5 separate regions of the Homo sapiens genome follow, and all the other regions are linked to region 5. Evidence: promoter capture Hi-C in 16 types of primary human blood cells and fetal thymus (Javierre and others, 2016). All regions are on one chromosome and are shown on one strand. The core of a region is centred on a gene start or on the middle of the fragment in contact, and the rest is flanking DNA. Distances in the headings are between cores, read along the strand shown. Region 1 overlaps CTDP1-DT (CTDP1 divergent transcript). Region 2 overlaps KCNG2 (potassium voltage-gated channel modifier subfamily G member 2). Region 3 overlaps CTDP1 (CTD phosphatase subunit 1). Region 4 overlaps KCNG2 (potassium voltage-gated channel modifier subfamily G member 2). Region 5 holds the start of NFATC1 (nuclear factor of activated T cells 1).

Evidence for each region. The method cuts DNA at HindIII sites, captures the fragments that hold promoters and counts their contacts. A CHiCAGO score of 5 or more calls a contact.
Region 1: a fragment that was not itself captured here is called in contact with the fragment with the promoter of NFATC1 in region 5 in 16 of 17 cell types (total CD4 T cells, M1 macrophages, non-activated CD4 T cells and 13 more); the score reaches 12.3 in total CD4 T cells.
Region 2: a fragment that was not itself captured here is called in contact with the fragment with the promoter of NFATC1 in region 5 in 1 of 17 cell types (monocytes); the score reaches 5.0 in monocytes.
Region 3: a contact is called between a fragment that was not itself captured here and the fragment with the promoter of NFATC1 in region 5, in 4 of 17 cell types (fetal thymus, total CD4 T cells, total CD8 T cells and 1 more). The highest score is 5.4, in fetal thymus.
Region 4: a contact is called between a fragment that was not itself captured here and the fragment with the promoter of NFATC1 in region 5, in 1 of 17 cell types (monocytes). The highest score is 6.0, in monocytes.

What each region holds. Positions count from the first base shown.
Region 1 is chr18:79,654,869-79,659,283 of GRCh38, reverse strand. The region is part of intron 2 of CTDP1-DT (CTDP1 divergent transcript); the gene reads left to right. Among named protein-coding and RNA genes, the nearest start is that of CTDP1-DT, 23 kb to the left of the region's middle. RefSeq lists enhancers at 1,230-1,765, 1,766-2,301. The HindIII fragment of the contact is 5,390 bases long and covers 1-4,415 here.
Region 2 is chr18:79,823,198-79,827,510 of GRCh38, reverse strand. The region is part of intron 1 of KCNG2 (potassium voltage-gated channel modifier subfamily G member 2); the gene reads right to left. Among named protein-coding and RNA genes, the nearest start is that of KCNG2, 27 kb to the right of the region's middle. RefSeq lists an enhancer at 337-1,536. The HindIII fragment of the contact is 777 bases long and covers 1,109-1,885 here.
Region 3 is chr18:79,691,911-79,696,418 of GRCh38, reverse strand. It overlaps CTDP1 (CTD phosphatase subunit 1), which reads right to left. Exons shown (of 13, transcript NM_004715.5): 2 at 1,111-1,194; 3 at 349-442. Among named protein-coding and RNA genes, the nearest start is that of CTDP1, 14 kb to the right of the region's middle. The HindIII fragment of the contact is 7,815 bases long and covers 1-4,508 here.
Region 4 is chr18:79,857,138-79,861,600 of GRCh38, reverse strand. The region is part of intron 2 of KCNG2 (potassium voltage-gated channel modifier subfamily G member 2); the gene reads right to left. Among named protein-coding and RNA genes, the nearest start is that of KCNG2, 61 kb to the right of the region's middle. The HindIII fragment of the contact is 1,719 bases long and covers 2,277-3,995 here.
Region 5 is chr18:79,393,843-79,398,663 of GRCh38, reverse strand. NFATC1 (nuclear factor of activated T cells 1) reads right to left here and starts at 2,734. Exons shown (of 10, transcript NM_001278669.2): 1 at 2,313-2,734. The coding sequence starts at 2,439. RefSeq lists silencers at 2,039-2,138, 2,499-2,898, 4,324-4,613 and enhancers at 1,795-2,342, 3,984-4,103, 4,808-4,821. The HindIII fragment of the contact is 8,960 bases long and covers 1-4,821 here.

The DNA.
Region 1 (4,415 bases), core at 1,218-3,717, 260 kb before region 5:
AAAAATTCCTGCTCATGGTCACCCAAGAGCTCTGATGGAGACGTACAGGAGAGGAATGTTGTTTTCATGCTGCTGACACCACATCCACCCCGCAGCCCAAGGATCCAGAATGATTCTGACTTTCAAGTCTTATTATTTCAGAAATACGTTTTCTAAGGCTATAGTTTATTCCTCTGATGAATCTAGGCAAAGTCAATTGAAAACCTTCTGAAAGGAATTCATCATTTTACATGCCATTAGGAACATTCATGATTTATGGGAGGACGTCAAAATATCAACATTAACAGGGGTTTAGAAGAAGTTGATTCCAGCCCTCAGGGATAACTTTGGGGAGTTTGAGGCTTTAGTGGGGGAAATAACTTCAGACGTGGTGGAAATAGCAAGAGAACTAGAATTAGACGATTAGACGGGGCCTGAAGATGGGACTGAACTGCTGCAATCTCAGGATGAAACTTGGACGGACGAGGGGCTGCTGCTTCTGGACGAGCAAAGAAAGTGGTTTCTTGAGATGAAATCTGCTCCTGATGAAGACACGGTGAAGATTGTTGAAATGAAACAAAGAATTTAGAATATTCCGTAAACGAGTTGATAAAGCAGCGGCAGGGTGTGAGCAGATTAACTGATTCTGAACAAAGCTCTGCTGTGGGTAAAACGCTGTCCATCGGCATCACACTCTCGTGAAAGCAAGAGTTGATCAACACGATAAAGTTCGCTGCTGTCCTATTTTTAAAAATTGCCACAGCCACCCCAGCCGTCAGCTGCCACCACCCTGATCAGTCAGCAGCTGTCAGCACTGAGGTAAGACCCTCCAGCAGCAAGAGATTTGGACTCACTGAAGGGGCAGACGGTCGTCATTTTTTAGCAATAAATTAGTTTTCAATTAAGGCATGTGCATTTTTTAAGACATAATGGTATTTCACAGTTAATAAGACTACAGTATAGTGTAAACATAATTTTATAAAGCACCAGGAAACCAGAATGATGCATGTGACTTGCTTTATTGTGATACTCACTTTATTGCCGTGGTTTGGAACTGCAGCAGTAGCCGTTGCCAGTTTGTTGGGGTGAGCATCTTAGACATTTAAAGCAGCCATTTCCACGTGTTGTTTTTATTCTAATATTTTTAGTATATTGATAAACAACATAAGAACACATGTCCTTCTTTTAGAAAATCCAAAGTATAAAATTCACATTTATAGAACATAAAATAGAGCAGAATATTGGCCTTATAATAGCACAAACCTCCTGAAGTAGTGGTTCTTAAACTTCAATATACCTCACGATCGCACAGGGAGCTCTTTAAAATGTCCTGTGGACCTGAACGGATGAGCCCTCCCAGGAGATCAAGCAGAAGAGGCTCAAGATATCACTCCCAGAAACTCGCTCCCTCAGCAGGTAGTGGTGAGGGCAACATGAGCAGGGCCTTCCTCCACCTCACCTGGGCCGCAGCTGGGATGCGCGTGAGCCCGGACCTTCCTCCGTCTCTCCTGAGATGCAGCTGGGATGCACGTTGCTGGGGGAAAATGGCAAGGACGCCAGTGAAAAGCACCGGGTAAGAATCGGTGCATTAGGCCCAGGGTGTTAAAGTGTCCTGCTGGAAGGAAGACTCAATCCTCCCAGGGTATCACCTCTGCTGGCCTTGCTGCTTTCACGAGTGAAAGAAGCTGCTGGCGCCGACCTGTGGGCTCTCTGTGACTGACGTGGTTTCATTTTGGCATAACTTGGAGCCACTGCAGGCTGGGGCAAAACAAAAGCAGGTCTCTTCTGTCTCAGCGGGAGTTCCCTGCCAACCTTTTGTGGACAGAGCAGCAGGGAGTGCAGTCTTGCCGGCCTTCTCTGTGCAGGGCGAGGTCTGGGCCAGGAGGCTCTGCAGCTGAGACCAGGGCGGCCCTGTCTGGTCATCCCCACGCAGACATCCCACCCTCCCACTGGCCCACGGAGCAGCTACACCTGCCGCTCTTCTGTGGACCAAGGGCACGGTGGACGGCAATGCTGTTTCACTTGGGATCAGGCCAACTGAACAACGCGGTCCGGAGTCAGAGGACTGCCATTGTCATTTACCTCGCCTCCTTTTTCTCAGTATCACAAAGCCCTCCTGGACTCAGACCTCTCAAGGAGGAGTGTGGAACCCCCGTGTTCTCTGACCCCCGCCTCTGTTTCCTTGGCCGCCATCTCCATCCTGCCATCCCTCACAGCCTCCCTGGCCTAGCTTCTTTCACAGCCCCGGGTCCTCAGGCCTGGCCAGGTGCTGAGTGTGGCCACTTTTCTCCAGGGTTTCCAGCTTCCAGGCTCCCCATACAGTACAGAGCAGACTGTGTGTAACATATTGGGTGAGCTATGAAGCCTAACCCTACAATGAGCCCATCAGCTGACCTGAAATCCAGGGTGTCACCAACATCACAACAACCGCTGGAGAGCTCCCCATCCCACTCTGCCCTTTGCTTCCCCACCAGCAGATCCACCAGCCTCAACCTGGTGTTGATCATGTTCCTTTTCTATGGTGTTTTATTGCATGAGTATATATATATATATATATATATATACACACACACATACAAAGATATATATATACACACACACACATATACAAAGATATATATATATATACACATACAAAGATATTGTTTAGTTTGGCTTGTTTCTGAGGTTTATAAAAATAGCATCATATATATTCTTCAGTGATGGTTGTTGCACTAATCATTGTGTATCTGCATCTTCCTCTAAATGATTTTGTTTGGCTGTGGTTTGTTGATTGGGATTGCTGTATAATATCCTATTACGTGGCTGTAACAGAACGTGTTCATGCCATCTTTATACATGGACATTTGGTGTAACAGAATGTGTTCCTGAGTCTTTATACATGGACATTTAGTTGCTTTCATGGGAAGTACTGCAGCGAACATTCTGTATGATTCTTGGTGCACCTGAGTTAAAGCCTCCGGAGGGTGTGCGTGTGGAGGAGGGTGTGTGTGTGGAGGGGACTGCAGAATCATAGAGTGTGCAAATGTTCAGATGAATGAAGTGACAACCAATTTTTTGAAATGGTTGTTTTAATTTATAATCCCACCAGCAACAAAGGAGTTACTTTCCATCCACATCCTCAACAAGTCTATGTTATCCAACTTGGTCTCTGCCATGCCAAGTAAAAACCTGTGTTAAAATGAAAACTTGTAGTTCTGATTGTCAGTCTCCTAATGACCATATGGTTTAGCTTATTTTTCTATTTTTTATCTGCCATTTGAGTTTTTTTTCCTGTGAAATGCCTGTTCATGTTTGTTGCTCATTTTTCTGTTGGGGTGTTTGTCTTTTTATTACTGATTTGTAGTAGTTCCCTGTGGCTTCTGAAGGAAAGTATTTTATTGTTTATATGTTACTCATGTTGTCTACCAATTTTGTGTTTGTCTTTTTCATTTTCTTTCTGAGACACTTTGATGAACAGAAGCTGTTAATTTTAAGAATGCCTTCCCTAACATGAGGATTTTAAAGATATCTTCCTTTTATACTTTTAAAATGTATGAAATTTGCCCTTCACAGCTAACCATTTACTTAATAAGAAATGGATGTTTCATATATGATGTAAGGCAGGAATCCAATTCATTTTCCATATGAATAACCAATTGTCCCAGCACTATATATTGAAAAACTTCTGTTCTCTTTGATCTGTGATGTCATCTCTGATATATACCAGTCTCTGTTTTTTTTTTTTTTTTTTTTTTGAGACAGGGTCTTGCTTTGTTGCCCAGGCTGGAGTGCAGTGGCGTGATCTCAGTTCACTGCAACCTCTGCCTCCCTCATTCAAGTGATTCTCCTGCCTCAGCCTCCCGAGTAGCTGGGACTACAGGCATGTGCCACCAAGCCTGGCTAATTTTTTTGTATTTTTTAGTAGAGACGGGGTTTCACCATGTTGGCCAGGCTGGTCTCGAACTCCTGACCTCAGGTGATCCGCCCACCTTGGCCTCCCACAGTGCTGGGATGACAGGCGTGAGCCACGCACCGGCCAGGCCAGATTTTCTATTCTGGCTTCTACTGCGCTGTTGGAATTGCTAGAGCTCCGTAAGTCATGACATCTGGGAGGGCCAGGGCCCCACGATTCTTTAGAAGTTTCTTCAGAAGTTTTGTGGCTGTTCTTGGTATTTGTTGTTTCATAACTTGTAGAATTAATGTGTCAAGTTTATTGATAAAACCTGTTAGGGCCTTAACAGGGCTGTGTGGAATCTAAGTCGCTCTGAGGAGAACTGGCAGTTTTGTGATTTGAATTTTCCCATCTGTCAACTTGGTCTACCATTTCACTTGCTTAGGTCCATTTCAAAGTCCTCCAATAAGGTTTTATGATTTTCTCCGTATAGCACTTGCTCATTTTTGTTTTGTATTTATTCCTGGTTACTTTATTTTCTGTTGCTATTGCACACGATAGC
Region 2 (4,313 bases), core at 248-2,747, 430 kb before region 5:
CCAGCACCACAAGTTTGAGAGCCGCTGTGCTAAACTACCAGTCCCCAGGCCCTGCCCCACTGGTGGGGCCGAAACCCTGGCTGGGGCCAGATGACCTCTCCTACCTAAGATAGCATCTCACCTGGAACTCTGACCAAGGAACAGAACTCTTTAGAGGCACGATGCTGACACCGCCAGGGAAAACGAAAGGAGGCTTAGTTTGAAACCCTCACGGTTTCCTGCAGGGATCCCACCCACATCTCCTGCCCTGGGGGCTCCGGGGTGGACACAGGACCACTGAGGCCTGGAGGGTGTCGCTGGTCTGGCCCGAGCCCCAGCTCCATGACCATGTGGGGGCGCACCTGCTAAGCTTCAGTATCTGGGAGTCCCCAGCCTGTCCCCAGGGAGGCCTGAGGCTGTCACCACCCCATAGAGGAGCAACAGAGGCTGGCGCGGCCCGGCCCCTGCATCGCCGGGGACGCCACGTCCTCACAAGGCACCAAGCAGCAAAGCTCAGCGTCCTGAACAGAAAGCGGGCAGAAGCCAAGGCGAATTTCCTAGAAACTGTAATTAAACTTTTACATTTTAATAATTATAATTTTTAGTTGGTAATTTCTTTTTCAATCAATTTTATCAAACAAGTGATTAGTCACTCCCACACCTTCTTTCACTGAACGTAATGACGTAACGCGCCGAACTAACCTTCCGTGAGGAGCTGCTCACTCAGTTCTTTCACTGAACGTAATGACGTAACGCGCCGAACTAACCTTCCGTGAGGAGCTGCTCACTCAGTTCTTTCACTGGATGTAATGACGTAACGCGCCGAACTAACCTTCCGTGAGGAGCTGCTCACTCAGTTCTTTCACTGGATGTAATGACGTAACGCGCCGAATGTAATCTTCCGTGAGGAGCTGCTCACTCAGTTTTCACTGAACGTAATGACGTAACGCGCCGAACTTAACCTTCCGTGAGGAGCTGCTCACTCAGTTCTTTCACTGAACGTAATGACGTAACGCGCCGAATCTAACCTTCCGTGAGGAGCTGCTCACTCAGTTCTTTCACTGAACGTAATGACGTAACGCGCCGAATCTAACCTTCCGTGAGGAGCTGCTCGCTCAGTTGTGAAGCTTCGTGCGGTGGGCAGCTGGGCAGGCCTGGGAAGGGAGCAGAACGGGCGCCGTACCTGAAGCGCCTGGAGCCTGGCTCTGGAGGGGCCTCCACACACCTGCTTTCCCTGCAGCTCTGCCTGCCTCAGAAGGGAGCAGGACCCACCTTCCCAGAGCCAGGCCCTCGGTCCCCGTCTGAAGCGACCCTTCTCCCACGGAGGCCTCGCGCCTCAGATCACAGTTTCAGCTCGACTACCCGGGTTCCTGGCCTTGCCAACGGCCACAGAGCTCCCGGCCCTTCCTGTCGCCCACAGTGTGTCAGCGCCCGCTTCCTCCAAGGTCAGGGCGGCCGGCAGGGCACAGGCCCCGACGCCGAGAGCTTCCTCTTAAGCTGCAGCCTCCACCCAGGCCCACGTCTCTATGGGGGTCATGCCCTGGACACAGCGTTTCAAAGAAAGGGCAGGTCCCAGAGCGGCCGAGAGGGCGACAGGTGTCCGCGCTCCCACCTGCCGTCCATGGGCAGACGCATAAAGAAACTTCCGGAAGGAAGGCCACAGACAGGCTGACAGTGCACGGTCAGGTCAGGTGATTTTTACTTTCTTTTTTCTGTCCTTCTGTATTTTCCCCCAGACGATACAGGTAATTTTAGTAACTGGAAAAAGGAATAAAAACGATTCTAATTTTAGAGGGAAAATCACATCTGACGGGTTTTTACAGAAAGAAACTGAAGCCCTATGAAATGACAGCGTGATTGATCTACCTTCGTATTAATCCTTATTGACACTTCATCTCCTGAAGCTTGCGCCCCGTCAGTCAAGTTGATGTTCACCGACAGGGACTTGGTAAAACCTCCGTGGTTTCTGAGACTCCTCGCTGAGGGGAGCTTCTGTAACTCTCAGGCGTTAAAGCTATTTTTTATGAAGAGGCATTTCGTCAGCAAACAGCAGAAAAGGACAGGAAAGATATTTTTATGGACCCAGACATCAGCGCATTCTTCGTAAACTGACGGTAAACACGAGTCTGTGATGTGCTGCTTTGAAAACAAGGCTTATAGCTGTAGGATGACTTAGGGATATTTTCCCATTCTTCAAGTGTCTTCCTTTTTCTTTTTTAAAGCCACATTATTATATTCAAGAAATGTAACGTTTGAAACAGACTGAACAATCAGAGGAGACACTGTGCAGTCCTCTTTGCAAACACATTTGAAAACCCAGAGGAAGTGCAGATGTTCTCGGGAAACAGAGACACCAAAAACTGTCCCAGGAGAGTTAGAAACTTCAGCAGACCCATTTCCATTGAAGAAACAGAAAGTTACTACTGACTGTCCTATCAAAGCACTAAGCCCCGACAGGTTTACAGAGAATTCTCCCAAGATTATAAAGCCTAGATAGTCTCCATGCTCTACAAATTATTTCAGAACATTGAGAAGGAAGGAAAGCTCTCTAGTTCATTTTATGAAGTAAGCAAACACTGATATTTAAACCAAATATAATAAGAAGAAAGAAAACTTAAGTTCAATATCACTCATCAATACCAATGCAGAAATTCTAAACGGAATATTATTAAACAGAATTCAATGCCTCTTAAGAAAAAAAAATACTGCGACAAAGTAGAATTTGTTCCAGAAGGTGCAAAGTAGGTTCAGTGGTAGGAAATCCATTAACATCATGCACCATAATAATAAATTTAGGTAGAAAAGTCATGTAATCATCTCCATAGATACCAAGCAGCCTTTGATGAATACTCAGGGCGTTGATGGGTATTTCACCAGCACCGGCAGCCTGTGTTAAGTTCTAAAGCCGCTCTCTTAATGGAGAAACACTAGAGGCATTTCCATGGCAATCAGAAACAAGGATACCCACTACCTCTGATATATTTAACATTATACGAGAGGTATTAATGAATAAAACTAGACAGCAAAAATCAATCAGAAGCATAGAGCAGGTAAAGAAGGGGTGAAACCGTCTCTCTTTGCAGATAGGATCATCTTATACTTGGAAATCCCAGAGAATCAATGACAAAACTTATTTATTGAATAAAAAAATTCAGAAAAGTAGCAGGCTATAAAATCAACAGCCTTCCTATACACAAACAACAAAGAACACAATCATTGGAAAAGTCCATTTATGGCCAAGCACCGAGGCTCACGCCTGTAATCCCACACTTTGGGAGGCCAAGGTCGGGGGATCGCTTGAGTCCAGGAGTTCAAGATCAGTTTGGGCAAAATGGCGAAACCCTGTCTCTACAAAAAATACAAGTTACCCACATGTGGTGATGCCTGTAGTCCCAGCTACTTGGGAGGCTGAGAGGTGGGAGGATCATCTGAGCCTGGGGGGCGGAGGCTGCAGTGAGCCAAGATCGTGCCACTGCACTCCAGCCTGGGTGACAGAGTGAGATCTTGTCTCAAAAATTAAATTAAATTGATGAAAGAAAAAGTCCATTTACAGTAGGAAAAAAACATGTAGGAACAAATTTCACAAGGAATGTGTACTGTTTTTACAAGAACAAATTTAAAACACGAAAGTAAACATGAACAAATGGAAAGCGAGCCATGCTCCTGGACAGGAGACTTGGCGCTGTGGAGGTGGCTTCCTCTTGGTGTTAGCTCATCAGTTCCACTCAATCCCAGTAAAACAGGGTAAGCTATTTTATGGAGTTGGACATGTCGATACTAAGGTTCAAATGTGCATAAAGAGCTGGGCACACGTGGAAAAAGAAAAACAACAAGGGGAAAAACTCATATAGCATGAACTCTTAAACATCAGGGGGTGAAGGACCAAAAACCCCATCGAGAAATGGGGAAACACATGAACAGGCCATTCACAAAAGATAAAAATGACTCTCACACGTATGGAAAACATGTTCAAGCACACTCGTAATCAGAGAAGTGCAGATTAAAACAATACTGAGATACCATTTCTCACCCATGAGACTGGCAAAAATTTAAAAATCCTACCACAACCCCTGGCCTGGCTGTGAGCAAACAGCGCTCGACACGGGGCACAGCTCTCAGGAGGGAGGAATGTGGCAACATCCGGCTGGCTAATGACCTCTGTGCAACCCCAATTCTGGGAGTCAACCCTGCAGAGATGAAAAGGTCCACATGTGGTGTTCACAGCAGCACAGGTGGAGATGGCAAAACCCTGGAAACAGCCCAGTGCCCGCACAGAGCAAGGTCGCTGAGTAAACGCGGGTGTCTACACGGTGGGGCACGTGCCGGAAGGAGGA
Region 3 (4,508 bases), core at 149-2,648, 300 kb before region 5:
TGAGCAGCTGTCACATCCCTCCCCAGTTAGGACTTGGCTCAAGGGAACCCAGGCTGAGCCTGGCTGTTCACAGCTGCGGCGGCAGCACCTGGTGTTCCCGACACGCAGGTCACACAGCCTCGGGGCCCTGAGTCGCTTTTGCAGGCAGACTTGTCTGTGGAGAACCAAGGGCAACCGTCCCTGCTTCAGGAAGGCCGCAGTCCCATAAGTCATCCGTGTGATGAGGGGTTGTTTCAGTAACGACGATGACAACCACACGTCCGTGCTTCTGCAGCCACCCTCCTCCTGCAGCCGCCCTCCTCAGAGCACCACGCTTCCCCAACACGCCGCCACTGATGCCCGGCTCACCTCGGAGCTCACCATCAACTCCGGCACGCTGTGCACCATGGACACGGTCGCCGTGGACAGCGGCACCTGCTGCTTCCCGTTCTTACTCTGCAACCTGCAAGTGCAAGGACAGGTTCAGGGCTTTCAGCTGAGTCTCTGCGCACAGATGCACACTGGGCTCTAAGTGACAGGATTCTAGCTGATGTTTTAACGGACACACGCTGCTATCTTAGCACAGACTTGATTCTGTCGGCAAACGTGGAAACATTCTCCACAGACAGGAAAACTGGTGGAAACACTGAGCTCGTGGCCACACTCATGAACACACAGAGCCATAGTCCTTCATGAAAACAAACTGCAAAGTCACACAGAAGCAGAAACAGGCCCTCAACCATGAAAACGCAGAAAAAGTAGCTGCCGCACCTCCCACTTGGCATTAGAGGTAAAGCAGCCCCCAGCATGGGGCGCTCAGCGGCCCAGAGGGAGGGGCTGCTCCAGGCACTCAGCGATCTGCGTCTTCAGTCAGGAGAAAACAGGTCTCGGCCCTCCAGCATGCCCCCCCACCACACCTGAGAATGGCATGAGGCTGGGGTCACAGAGCAGGAAGGACTGCCTCCAGGGAAACCCATTGAGTGTGACTCGTATGGGGCCCAAGGGAGGCGTCTGCATCTGCCGCTGGGAAACCAAGGGCCTCACTGTGTTCCCAGCACAGCTTCTCGGACTCCCCGGAGGCCACCACCTCGAGCCCCAGCAGGCAGCGATCTCACTCTTCCGGATACTTACTGGGTGAGGTCTTGGCCACATTCAGCACACAGGCCTTTCATGACAACCGGGTGGCTGCATCCTTCCAACCTCACCAGAACCGCTCTACAAAAAAACACAAGGGGAACAACACTTTAAAATCTCTTGGTTTATCAAAAGAGCCCCCAAGTAAGAATTTTAAAATCTAGGTTTTTGTACCAATTCTACACTAACCCTTGCATAACTTTGTAGGCAGGTGACATCACCCCTTGAGGGCATTTCTTTGTCTATAAAATGAAAGGACTTTCCACCTACAGGTGTCTCTCATGAAAAATGACACGCCACCACACCTCACCACCCCCGTGCCACCCGTGGAACAGCTGAAAAAACTAAGGATGTCTGGTCCAAAGAGGAGACTTGGGGATAACATAAAGTTGTCTCAAAACACACTATTTATATGTGATCCTCTGACATTTCCGTTAGAGAATTTATAAAATCTAAAACTTTCATATCATTCCCAGTCTAGACAGAGGCTGATGCAACTACATTTTCCTGACAAAATGACTGTAATGTTCGTTTTATATAAACACAAACTGTTTTATTTGTCCAAACAGTGGTCTTCTGGCAGAAGCCATGGAAGAAGTGCTGAAATCTGAAGGCTATGAGACCAGAGGCCGCCTGGCACTCAGCGCCCGCCCCTAGGTGCCCTCAGCCCCCACACTCCCACCCCAGCCGGGCTGCTCCGACCGCCCCACCCTGCGAACATGAGACCACCCAGCACTCAGCGCCTGACCCTAGGTGTCCGCAGCCCCCACACTCCCACCCCAGCCGGGCTGCTCCGACCACCCCACCCCGTGGACATGAGACCGCCCAGCACTCAGCGCCCACCCCTAGGTGCCTGTAGCCCCCACACTCCCATCCCAGCCGGGCTGCTCCGACCACCGCGCCCCGCGGACACGAGGCTGCCCGGCACTCAGTGTCCCTAGGAGCTCGCAACCCCCACACTCCCGTCCCAGCTGGGCTGCTCCGACCACCCCACCCCGTGGACATGAGACCGCCCAGCACTCAGCGCCCACCCCTAGGTGCCTGTAGCCCCCACACTCCCATCCCAGCCGGGCTGCTCCGACCACCCTGCCCTGCAGACATGAGGCCGCCCAGCACTCAGCACCCGCCCCTAGGTGCTCACAGCCCCCACACTCCCGTCCCAGCCGGGCTGCTCCGACCACCCTGACCCGCGGACATGAGACAGCCACCCAAGCTGCATCTGTCAATGGGACCTTTCCAGGCGGGATGCCCCATGGCCCACCAAGACCCCCAGCCATGTCATCGAGAGGGCGCAAGGATCAGGCCACAGGCGGAAACAAGGCGGAGCCACATCCTCCATGCCCACTGTGCCATGGCAGGCTGTGCTGGGAGACTGGGAGGGGCGGGTCTGCAGCCTGCATCCTGCAGGGGAGCGGAGGGGCGGGTCTGTAGCCTGCATCCTTCAGGGAGACTCGGAGGGGCGGGTCTGTAGCCAGCATCCTGCAGGGAGAATGGGAGGGGCGGGTCTGTAGCCTGGAGGGGAGTGGAGGGGAGTTCTTCCTGGGGAGGAGGATGGGCGTGTGCGGATCACCCTGGAGGAGGAACGGTGCTGAGGACACACGGTGCGGGGCTCCGAGCCCTCGGGGATGGAGTGGGCTGCCGGTGACTATCAAGAATCTGAGCTCCTCCGGGTCCTGGGCCTGTGCGTACACAGTGCATGTGCAACACAAATGGATTCCGCGTTTACTCACGTCCCATCCCCAAGACATCTCGTCATGTATACGTGCAAATATTCCAAAATCCAAAAAAACCCAGAAATCCAAAACACTTCTGTTTCCAAGCAGTTTGGATATGGGAGACTCAACCTGTATCAGGTTTTTTTCTTAAACCAGACAACAAAATAGTGACACCTTGTTTGAAAAAGTGTGTTAAACTTTCTAAGGTGACAAGTATGATTTCCTTAATTTTATCAAAATACTTTACAATGAATGATTAGAGTTCTGCCCTAAAATGCCCCAATGAGCAGAGACTTAACCTAAAAACCCAATCTCTGAAAAAAAACAAAAACAAAAACAAAAAAAACGCACAAACCCCACACTGGACCATCCTCCCTCCCGGTCACCACACCTGCTCAAAGACACTGCCAGGCTTCACAGGCCTCAGGGACACCTGCTCCCTGCTTGCTGAGGCCACAGGGGCCATCCCCGCCCAGGAGTCTGTGTCCCTACCGCCATCGCACTCGGGGCCTCCACATCCAGGCTCCTCTCCGATGCCTGGCAGCCCCCAACTCCCCGGCTGAGCTGTTTTCGTCCATCCACAGGGCTCTGCGGCCCCACCGCCAACACCCAAACCCAGTCCTCCCAATGGCCCCACGTCCTTTCCCTGGGCACTGCTCCCCCAGTCCTGGCAGCAACCCCACTTGGGAGCCCCAGCCCCTCTAACAGGCTTCCCTGGTCTCCAGCTGACATCATTTTGCAATCAGCCTTCTGCAAGGAAACTCTGCACAGCTCCTGCCCCACACAGGACACCAGCTCATGGCAGGCTCCTCATTCTACCCCCTGCCCCACACAGGACACCAGCTCACGGCGGGTTCCTTGCTCTACCCTCTGCCCCACGCAGGACACCAGCTCACGGCGGGCTCCTCGCTCTACCCCCTGCCCCATGCAAGACACCAGCTCACCGCGGGCTCCTCCTTGCTCTACCCCCTGCAAGGGGAAGAGAGGGAAAGGAATCCTCAAATATGAACTAGGAGGATTTTGCCAATCTCTCCTAAACATGTTAACATGAAGAAGGATCTGGGGTGGCTCTAGTTTAACCAATAAACAGGTGTTTTTTTGTAGAAATTGACAAGTTGCTTCTGAAATTTATATGGAAGTTCAGAAAACCTAGAATCTCAATTTTCAAAAATAACAGAGAACTTTTACTACCTGACTTCAGAACTTATCAGGCATACAACATAAACGCATGGAACAGAGGAGTCCAGAAAGACTCAAAGGTATGACCGACAGACGACCCACCAAGGTGCCCAGAAAACTCCATGGCGGGCGGGGGGCACCTTCCAGCCAGTGGGGCTTCACACAAATGGATCAACGGCTGACAAACGCCTGCAGAGTGTGTTCTGCAAAGGTTTTCTCCACTGTTCCCCACCCGGAGTCCACCCTGGGAGCCGTCCACTCCTCCCCACCCCGAGTCCACCCTGGGAGCCGTCCACTCTTCTCCCACCCCGAGTCCACCCTGGGAGCCGTCCACTCCTCCCCACCCCGAGTCCACCCTGGGAGCCGTCCACTCCTCCCCACCCCGAGTCCACCCTGGGAGCCGTCCACTCCTCCCCCACCCCGAGTCCACCCTGGGAGCCGTCCACTCCTCCCCCACCCCGAGTCCACCCTGGGAGCCGTCCACTCCTCCCCCACCCCAAG
Region 4 (4,463 bases), core at 1,887-4,386, 460 kb before region 5:
CCACAAACTGTCTAAAGACAAAGACCCGGCACAGTGGCTCATGCCTGTAATCCCAGCACTTTGGGAGGCCGAGGCAGGTGGATCCTCTGAGGTCAGGAGTTTGAGACCATCCTGGCCAACATGGCAAAAACCTGTCTCTACTAAAAATACAAAAATTAGCGGGGTGTGGTGGCAGGTGCCCGTAATCCCAGCTACTCGGGAGGCTGAGGCAGGGAGAATTGCCTGAACCTGGGAACGGAGGTTTCAGTGAGCCGAGATCGCGCCACTGCAGTCCAGCCTGGGTAACAGAGTGAGAACTCCATCTCAAAAAAAAAAAAAAAAAAAAAAGAGAGAGAGAGAAGAAAACAGAGGCAAAAATCCTCCACAAGACATGAGCAAAATAAATCCAGCTTCATATTAAAAGGATTATACATGATGACCATTTGATCGTTTACCATAGAGATTTATCACAGGAATACACGGGTGGCACAATACACAAAATTACTATAATACGCTCATTTATAGGATGAAGGGAAAAATCATGCGATAATTTCAATAGAGGCAGAAAAAGGATTTGACGAAGTCTAACATCCTTTCCTGATTAAACAAAAAACTCAATCAATAACTAGGTCTAAAAGAGAACTTCCTCCACATGACAAGGTCCACGTAGGAAAAACTCACCGCTAACTCCATAGTCAACGGTGAAAGACTGGATTCTTTCCCCTAAGACCAGGAACAAGACTGAAATACCTGCTCTCATCAGTTCTACTTAACATTGAACTGGAAATTATAGTCAGAAAAATTAGGCAAGAGAAAGAAATAAAAGGCATCCACACTCAAAAGAAAAAAGTAAAACTATATTTTGAGATGACTTGATCTTATGATCTTATGTACAGAAAACCTTAAAGAACACACACGCACACATACACATACACATGCGCACACACACACACACACATCACTATGAGAATGGGTTCAGCAAAGTTGCAAGACATGAGATCGGTAAAAAAAATCAGTTGTATTTCTATACAAAAGCAATGAATAATCGGAAAAGGAAGTTAAAAAAATTCCATTTATAAGAGCATCAGAAAGAATAAAATACTTAGAAATAAATTTAACCAAGGAGTGGAAACTGAAACCTACACTGAAAACTGAAAACTACAAACATTGGTGGAAGAAATTTTAAGACTAAATAAATGAAAAGACATTCCATGCTCATGTATTGGAAGACTTAATATTGTTAAGATGGCAATCTTCCCTAAATTGATCAACAGAGTCAATCCAATCCATATGAAAATCCCAGTAACTTTTTTGAAGACATTGACAAGTTGAACATTCTATTGACAAGTTGAAAATTCTATTGGAAATGCAAGGTAGCCAAAACAAACTTGACAAAGGACAAAGTTGGAGGGCTCAAACTTACTTGATATCATTTTATTACATGCCTCCACCTAAATCTTGTGTCGAAATGAGATCTGTTCGTTTAAAAGTGTGTGGTACCTACCCCGCAACCTTGTTCTTGCTTTCACCATGTAACGTGCCTGCTCCCCCTTTGCTTTCTGCCATAACTGGAAGCTTCCCAAAGCCTCCCCAGAAGCTTAGCAGACATTGGCACCGTGCCTCCTTTACAGCCTGAAGAACCATGAGCGAATTAAACCTCTTTTCTTTATAAATTACCCAGTCTCAGGTATTCCTTTATAGGAATGCGAACATGGACTAGTACATTACTACTTACTCAAAGTGAGTATAAAGCTACAGCAATCAAGAGTGTAGTACTAGTGTAAAGAGAGACATAAAAATCAATGGAGCAGAATTGAAAGTCCAGAAATGAACCCATAAATCTACCGTCAGTTCACTTTTGACAAGGTCGTCAAGACTATTCAATGGAGAAGTAATAGTGTCTCCAACAAACGGTTATCCACATGTAAAAAAATAAAGTTGGACCCTGCTATCGTTTGGATATTGGCCTCCAAATCTTATATTGGAATTTGATACCCAGTGTCGGAGGTGGGGCCTAATGGGAGGGGTTTGGGTCATGGGGGCTGATCCCTCATGCATGGCTGGGAGGTGTCTTCATGGTAATGAGTGAGTTCTCGCTCTATGAGTTCACTCCAGAGTTGGCTGTTGAACCCGCCTGGCACCCCTAGCCCTTGCTTCCTCCATCTCCGTGTGGTCTCTGCACACACCAGCTCCACGCCATCTTCTGCCATGACTGGAGCTGCCTGTGGCCTTCCTCAGATGCAGATGCCTGATCTTGAACTTTTCCAGACATCAGAATCATGATGACATCACAAGCTTCTTTTTAAAATGAATTACCTGGCTCCAGGTATTCCTTTATAGCAACACTGAATGGACCAAGATGCCTACATCACACTATATATAAAAACTAATTCAAACTAGATCAAAGACCTTAATGTAAGAGCTAAAACTCCAAAACACACGTAGAAGAAAACAGACTGTACATCTTCATGACCATGGATGAGACATTGGTTTCTGAAACAGAATGCCAAAAGCACAAGCAACAAAAGAAAAAAAGATAAATTGGACTTCATTCCAATGAAACTCTTGTATATCAAAGAACAGGACCAGGAAAATGAATGACAAGTAACGGTGGAAAAAAAAAGAGCTGCAAGTCCCGTATCTGATAAGAGTCCAGTATCCAGGATGTTAGGAACTCTTGGAGCTCAACAACAAATGACAAACAACCCAATTTAAACATGGGCAGAGGATCTGAATAGATATTTCTCCCGAGGAAGTATGTGAATGGCTAATAAGCACATGAAAGGTGATCAATATCATTAGTCATTATGGAAACGTAAATTAAAACTACAAGATACCACTTCACATCCACTAGGGTCGTTATAGTCAAACAAATGGAAAAAAAAAACCCAACAAGTGTTGGAAAGGATGTGGAAAAATTGGACCCCTGTACATTGCTGGTGGGAATATAAAATGTCACAGCCACAGTGGAAAACAGTCTGGCAGTTCCTCAAAAATTTAAACATGGAGTTCTCATGTGACCCGGTGACCCCACTCCGAGATGTACACTCAAGACAAATGAAAACATGTGTTCACACAAAAACTTGTACATAAATGTTCACAGTGGCATTACTAGAATAGCCAAAAACTGAAAACAACCCAAATTCCATCAACTGATAAACGGAGAAGCAAAATATGGGCCTCCATACAGGAATGTTATGCAGCCACAAACAGGAACCAAGTGCTGCTAATGCCACAGTGTGGATAAAACCTATGCTAAGAGAAAGAAGCCAGGCAGAAAAGGTCACATATACTGGGAATCCGTTTATATAAAATGTCCGAGCTGGGCACGGTGGCTCACGCCTGTAATCCCAGCATTTTGGGAGGCTGAGGCGGGTGGATCACTTGAGGTCAGGAGTTTGAGACCAGCTTGGTCAACATGGCGAAACCCTGTCTCTACCAAAAAATACAAAACTTAGCTGGGTGCAGTGGCGGGCGCCTGTAGTCCCAGCTACTCGGGAGGCTGAGGCAGGAGAATCACTTGAACCCGGGAGTCAGAGGTTGCAGTGAGACAAGATCACGCCACTGCGCTCCAGCCTGGGAGACAGAGCGAGACTGTCTCAAAAAATAAAATAAATAAAATAAAATATCCATGATAAGTAAATTCACAGAGACAGAAAGCCGGCAAGGGGGTTCCAGAGGATGGGAAGAGGGGCGATGGGGAGTGACTGCTAATGGCTCAGAGTTTCTTTTGGGACGATGAAAAGTCCTGGAATTAGATAGTGGTGATGGTTGCACAGCATTGTTAATACACTAAAAACCACAGAATCGTGCACATAAAAATGGTAAATATAACGTTAGGTGAATTTTATCTCCATTTATAAAAATCATTCTGAGTGAGTAGGTCTCGGGGGGATCCAGTAACACGCAAGCCTCATCACTGAGGCTTGAGAGCCGCTGCCTTCCACCGCCAACGTCAAGCCCTTTTTCTGGTTGTTGCTGACAACTGTATTCTAGGACCTCTGCCAAGTAAAGCTTAAACCCACCACTACGGCAAGTCAGGAACCAGAGAAGAGGGGGCGTGGTGGGTTTGCTCAGTGTAGCTCGCAGACTGCCCACTCGACCCAAGCGTGTGATTCATTAGAGATTTTAGGGGGAAAAAGTCAAATGAAAAGGAAGGAGTGAGGGAAAGACAGTCTAACAAAATGGCATTAGTTAGCTTGCCAGTAAGAGCTCAGCACCCCAGTGAAGAATTGCATAAGTCGCTTCTGAATGGGAGAAAGCTCCTTGGATGACTACTGCAATGGAGGCCAGGAGAGAAGCGCTCCATAATCACCGGGACCACGTGTGCTGTGACCTTCAGCGCCAAGTTCGCTGCATGAGAAGAGGGGGGACGTGGTCAGGATTCAAATGGTTATGTGTGCCTCTGTGCCCCAAGGTTCACTCAGTGAACATGTGATCCAAACCTCTGTGCCAGACACCCCATGCCAAGGACATGGCCTGAA
Region 5 (4,821 bases), core at 1,485-3,984:
CCCAGGCCGCGGGCCCTGCAGGGATGGAGGCTCACTGCTGCTGTCCTAGGACTGCACTGGTCTCCATCCCAGAGAAGGGGTCGGTGGGGCGGCTCCCCTGCTGCTCCTAGGAGCCCCCCCTTCCCCCGCCCCAGTGCTGGGCTTCCTTCCTGCAAATGGTTCAGAGCTATTGGTCCAGATTCAAAGCTGCCCGTTCCACAGACACTGGGTGTCTCCATGGAAATGTTTAGCTTGGACGCATCCTCCCAGAGGCTGGGGATGTCTGCGGAGACAGAAGCCCCGCTGGGTGTGATGAAGCGGGGTGCCAGCGCCCTGCCATTTTCTAATCTGAGCTGGGAAACAACGCTGTGAAGTTAAGTGGCAGAGAACAGGGTGAGCTTTGTTTGGCCCCAGCCCGTGGGGCATTGTGTCTGGAGCGACTTCTGACTGGGTGGCTACTTACAGGCCTGTACTTCTCTGCGTTCTCCATGAGGAAGCAAGCCCGGGGCCTTCAGGAACCACGACGCCTAATGAGCTTCCACCCAGATGGTCCCGAAACCCGAGGGACGCAGGGGAGGCGCCCAGGTCCTCAGATGGGCCAGGAATGGCCTCGTGGGGCCTACTCAGAAGGACTCAGAGTTCTTCCCGGTGGTCTCAGCGATGGCTGGTGTGGAAACCACGCGTGTCCCCATGCTGCCGGCCTGTGTGTATCAAGGACTAGATCACACTTTCCGGCTGGCCCAGTTCTGCAGCCCTCATAAAATACACCCATGTCGGTCGGGCGTCGCTGCCCGGCGCACTGCCTTGCAGCAGGGACCTTTTCGAGCTTATTTTCTTCAGTAGGAAACACGAAAACTAGCCACTGCCCCGTCGTGTTTTTTCCTTGCGTAAAAGAAAGGGGCTCCTTACTACAGGTCGGCCACCGGCTCTTCAGGTACAGAGATCTGAACTTGGAAAGACCTGCCTTTCTAAAGGGAGTGATAATGAACACTGCGGCGTAAGTGTCCCAGGATTTAAAACCGAAACTCCAACAAAAAAAAATTTTTTAAACTCTGCTACTAGCAAGAGCACATTGTGTAAAACACTGACACGGGACATGGTTTAAACATGTCAACATTTTCTAACATTGGGATGAAGTGGTGTCTACCTCCCGTCCCGTGAAGCGTCAGGGCACCGACCACACGGACCCCCCTCCGTGGAGCTCACGGCCCTGTGCTCAGCTCTGCTAAGACCAGCGAGTTTTCCAGAGCTGGGGGAGCCCGGTTCTCAAGCAAGCCCCGCAGTTATCAGGGTCGCGCAGGAAGCGGCAGCGCTCGGAAGGACGTCTGCCCTTATGAAGTACATATGTTGGCAGGTGTGCTGGCGCTCTTTAAATAAATTATATAAAATATTTCAGAGCTGGTAAGGAATTTGGAAAAGCGTCTTCCAATTTCCATTAGCATTGCAATCCCTAATCCCTAACTCGTATGCTCACACCTCTGCAAGGGTATTTTCAAAGCCACTTGCAGGAGCCCACCCGGCATCGCCAGGGGTGTGTGCCGGGGACGGGCTAAGGTGGGGGACTGGAATGTGAGATGCGCCGCAGGGGGGTCTCAGCGCCCCCCACACCGGGTTTCAGGGACCCACACTGTGCCATCTTTTTTTCACTATAAAGAAGCAGCTCGAAACTTGGCGGTTCCTTTTCAAACTTGCCTGAAACATCTTCTCTGGCTGGAACTCCTGCCTATAGGATTTCAAAATGGCTTAAATTCGGGGCTGTGCTGCGGCCGCGCTTTGGATCTTTTGGTCCTGCAGGTCCAGGAGCCGGCGTGACGGGCTCGGCCCTGGGGAATTCAGGGGCGCGGCGCGAGGGAGACGCCGCCACGAGCTCGGGGTGGGGGTGGGGGGCGCAGAACCCCCAAACCGCGATCTTGGCGCCAGAGGGTGGCTCTGCCTCGCTCAGGAAGACACGGGGCATCCTTCACTCCCAAGGAAGCCTCCCTTCCTCCCTCCCACGTGCCCTCTGTGGTCCTGACGGCCCAGCCTCGCCCGTCCCCAAATCGCCGGCCTGCGAGCCGCTTCCTCGGCGGGACCCGCGGCGGCCTCGCCTCGCGCCCTCAGCGCTGGGGCAGAGGAGACACCTATTGGCAGAAGGCGCGCTCGGAACCGGGCTGCTGGGAGCTGGGGGACGCCGTTCCCGGTCCGCGCCGCGCCCCTCCCTGGGCGCACAGACCCGGCCGACCTCGTTCTCTGGCCCGGACCCCTCCGTGCGGGCGACGGGGGCGGGGTCGGGGGGCGCGGCCCGGGCCGTGGGGGGCGCAGGGGTCCGGGGGCGGAGGCCGCGCGGGGCTTACCTTCCTCCGCTGACTTCATGGTGCCGCCGGCGCGCGGCGCGGGCCCCAAAGTTTCTCCTCTCCCGAAGACCGCAGCCGCAGGGCCAAGTGGAAACTTGGAAGGGACTGGAAAGCTGGTGCTTGGCATCCGCGCGGCGGCGGCGGGGAGTGGAGCGGCGGGCGGAGGCACAGGAGAAGCGGCCGCCCCGCGCTGCCGGGGTCGGGTCTCCGGGAAGACAGCCCTCGCCCCGGGCTCAGCGCCGCGCGCCCCGGAGGAAAGTCATCGAGGGGCGTGTGCGCGCGTGGCGGGGCCCGGCCGCGGCCCTAGGACCTGCGCGGTGGCTCCGAGCCCTGCCCGCGCCCCGGTGCCCGCGCCCTGCTGCTGGGATCTGGCGCGGCGACTCCGCCGGCGAGTTCGGAGCCTCTGAGTCTCGCTCTGACGCAGGGCCGCGCTCTGCCTCCTGCCTTTTTAAAGCTGGAAAACACCTCCCCCGCCTCCCCGCCGGCCCGGCGGCTCCCGCGCCCCCTCCCTGCCGTGACATCACGCCCCTGCTGCCCGGGCCCGCGCGGGGCCCCGGGGACGAGTCGCCGAGCGCCCGCCCCTCCCCGCGCCGCGGCAGCCGCTCGCCTGGGGGCAGGGGCGCAAGAGGCGGGGCGCGCACGGGGAGGGGGGGCGCACGGGGAGGGGGGGGCGCACGGGGAGGGGGGGCGCCCGGGGAGGGGGGCGCCCGGGGAGGGGGGGCGCACGGGGAGGGGGGCGCACGGGGAGGGGGGGCGCACGGGGAGGGGGGCGCACGGGGAGGGGCGCACGGGGAGGGGATGGGGGCGTAGGGGCGGGAACGGGGAATCCGGGGGCCGGGCAGGGGGGCGCTGGGGCTGGCGGGGGAAACGGGGGCGAACGGGCCAGACGGGACGCCTGAGTCCACGCGGGTGTCCGGAGGGAGCCCGGCCCTGCTGGAAAAGGGGCGGGGGGCGGGGGCCGGGGGCCGGGGAGGGGTGTCGAGAAAGCCCGGCATGCTGAAGTCATTATGTAAAATCGCAGGCTTCCCCCGCTGTGGAAATTTGGAAAAGCGCTTCACTGGCAGGCCCTAGAAAGGAAATTCCCATCCCGCTAAATTACTAACAGATTGCGTGGCCGTCCCGGGACGTCGAGTTATTGTCATTTTTATTCTGTAAATATCTGCTCGACCTAGACGGCCTGTGGCAGGGGCCGGCGTGGGGAGGCCCGGGGACGCGCTCACCTGCCCTAGCCGCCCGGAGGGGGCGTTTTATGGGCGCGACTGCGCGACTTCTGACGGGGGGAGGCCCCCCGGCCACTCACACTTTCCTCTCTTACGTCTCCCTGCGTCTCTTCGGGCGCAGCTCAGCTGCCAACACGGCACCGCATTTTCTTGTTGGCTTTGGATGGGGGGGGTTGGAGGTTAAAGTGTCTGGTGTGTAGAAACCATAAATCGATTGCACGACACCCTTATGTGATTTAAACTAAACCCAAAGGCTAAACTCGTGTCTGCTGCGGGGCCCAGGAGGTCCGCAGACCCCCAGGGATCACTGTGCCCCGTGGGTGCCCCCCACAAGCGCCTCCTCCCTGCCGGGGGAGGCGGTCGGGCGCTGCAGAGCCCGCGAAGGTGCGCGGCCAGAGCCCGTCCGTCCCGCGTCCCGAGGCCTGGCTCCATTCGGCCGCCCCGACTCAGCACAAATGGAACCCCGGCTTTTCCACCGCAGGCCTCGGCCTGGAGAGACGTGCCCGGATTAGCGGGGTGGTGGCCGCCTCGCTCCTGCGGCGTCGAGGCCATTTCCAGGGGTCTCTACCTGCGGGGGCCCCTACGGCGCCGAGCCAGGCGTGGCACGCGCCCCAGAGCACCGGGCGCCGGGAGGGGAGGAGGGGCCGCGGGAGGACGCCCAGGCCGGTGGGCGGGGGTCGGGGGGTCAGGGGGACTCCAGCGAGGCCGCGCCCCCACGCCCCTCCCCCTCCCCTCCCCTCCAAATCTTCCCGCCGCGAGTGTCCCCAGGCCTGGGGCCAGGATTTGGCGGGGAGAGTTTCCGTCCCCCCCGCCCCGCCCTCCTTCTCCCCACCTCCAGGACGGGGCGGGCGGAGACTCGCCGGGAGGAGGGAATCCCGAGGCCGGGTCTGGCGGGGCGCGCCCAGCCGGTCACGTGGGAGACTGAGCCCCTCGACCCCAGCCGCGGTCCTCGAGCCCGGGACCGACCTGGCGAGGCTGCCCTTGGCTCCTGAGGAGCCGGGGCCGGGGCGGGGGCGGCCGGCTCTTCCTCCTCCTCCCGCCCCTCCCCTTCCTCCGCTGCCGCCTCCTCCTCCTTCAATAAATAATTTTTTCACCCCATGCAGAAAAGCTCCCTTTTCCTGTCTGCTCTCAAAGCCGTCCTTATCCCCCCGCCCGGGTGACGGAATCCCGGGTCTGTTTCCCTCTGTTTAATGCCGTTGCCGGGACCACGGTGGCCGCGCGCCAGGCGCAGGGAGTTCCGGAGGCGGCGGCCCAGAGCGCGGCCAGCTCGCCCGGCCTCTGCGCCCCGG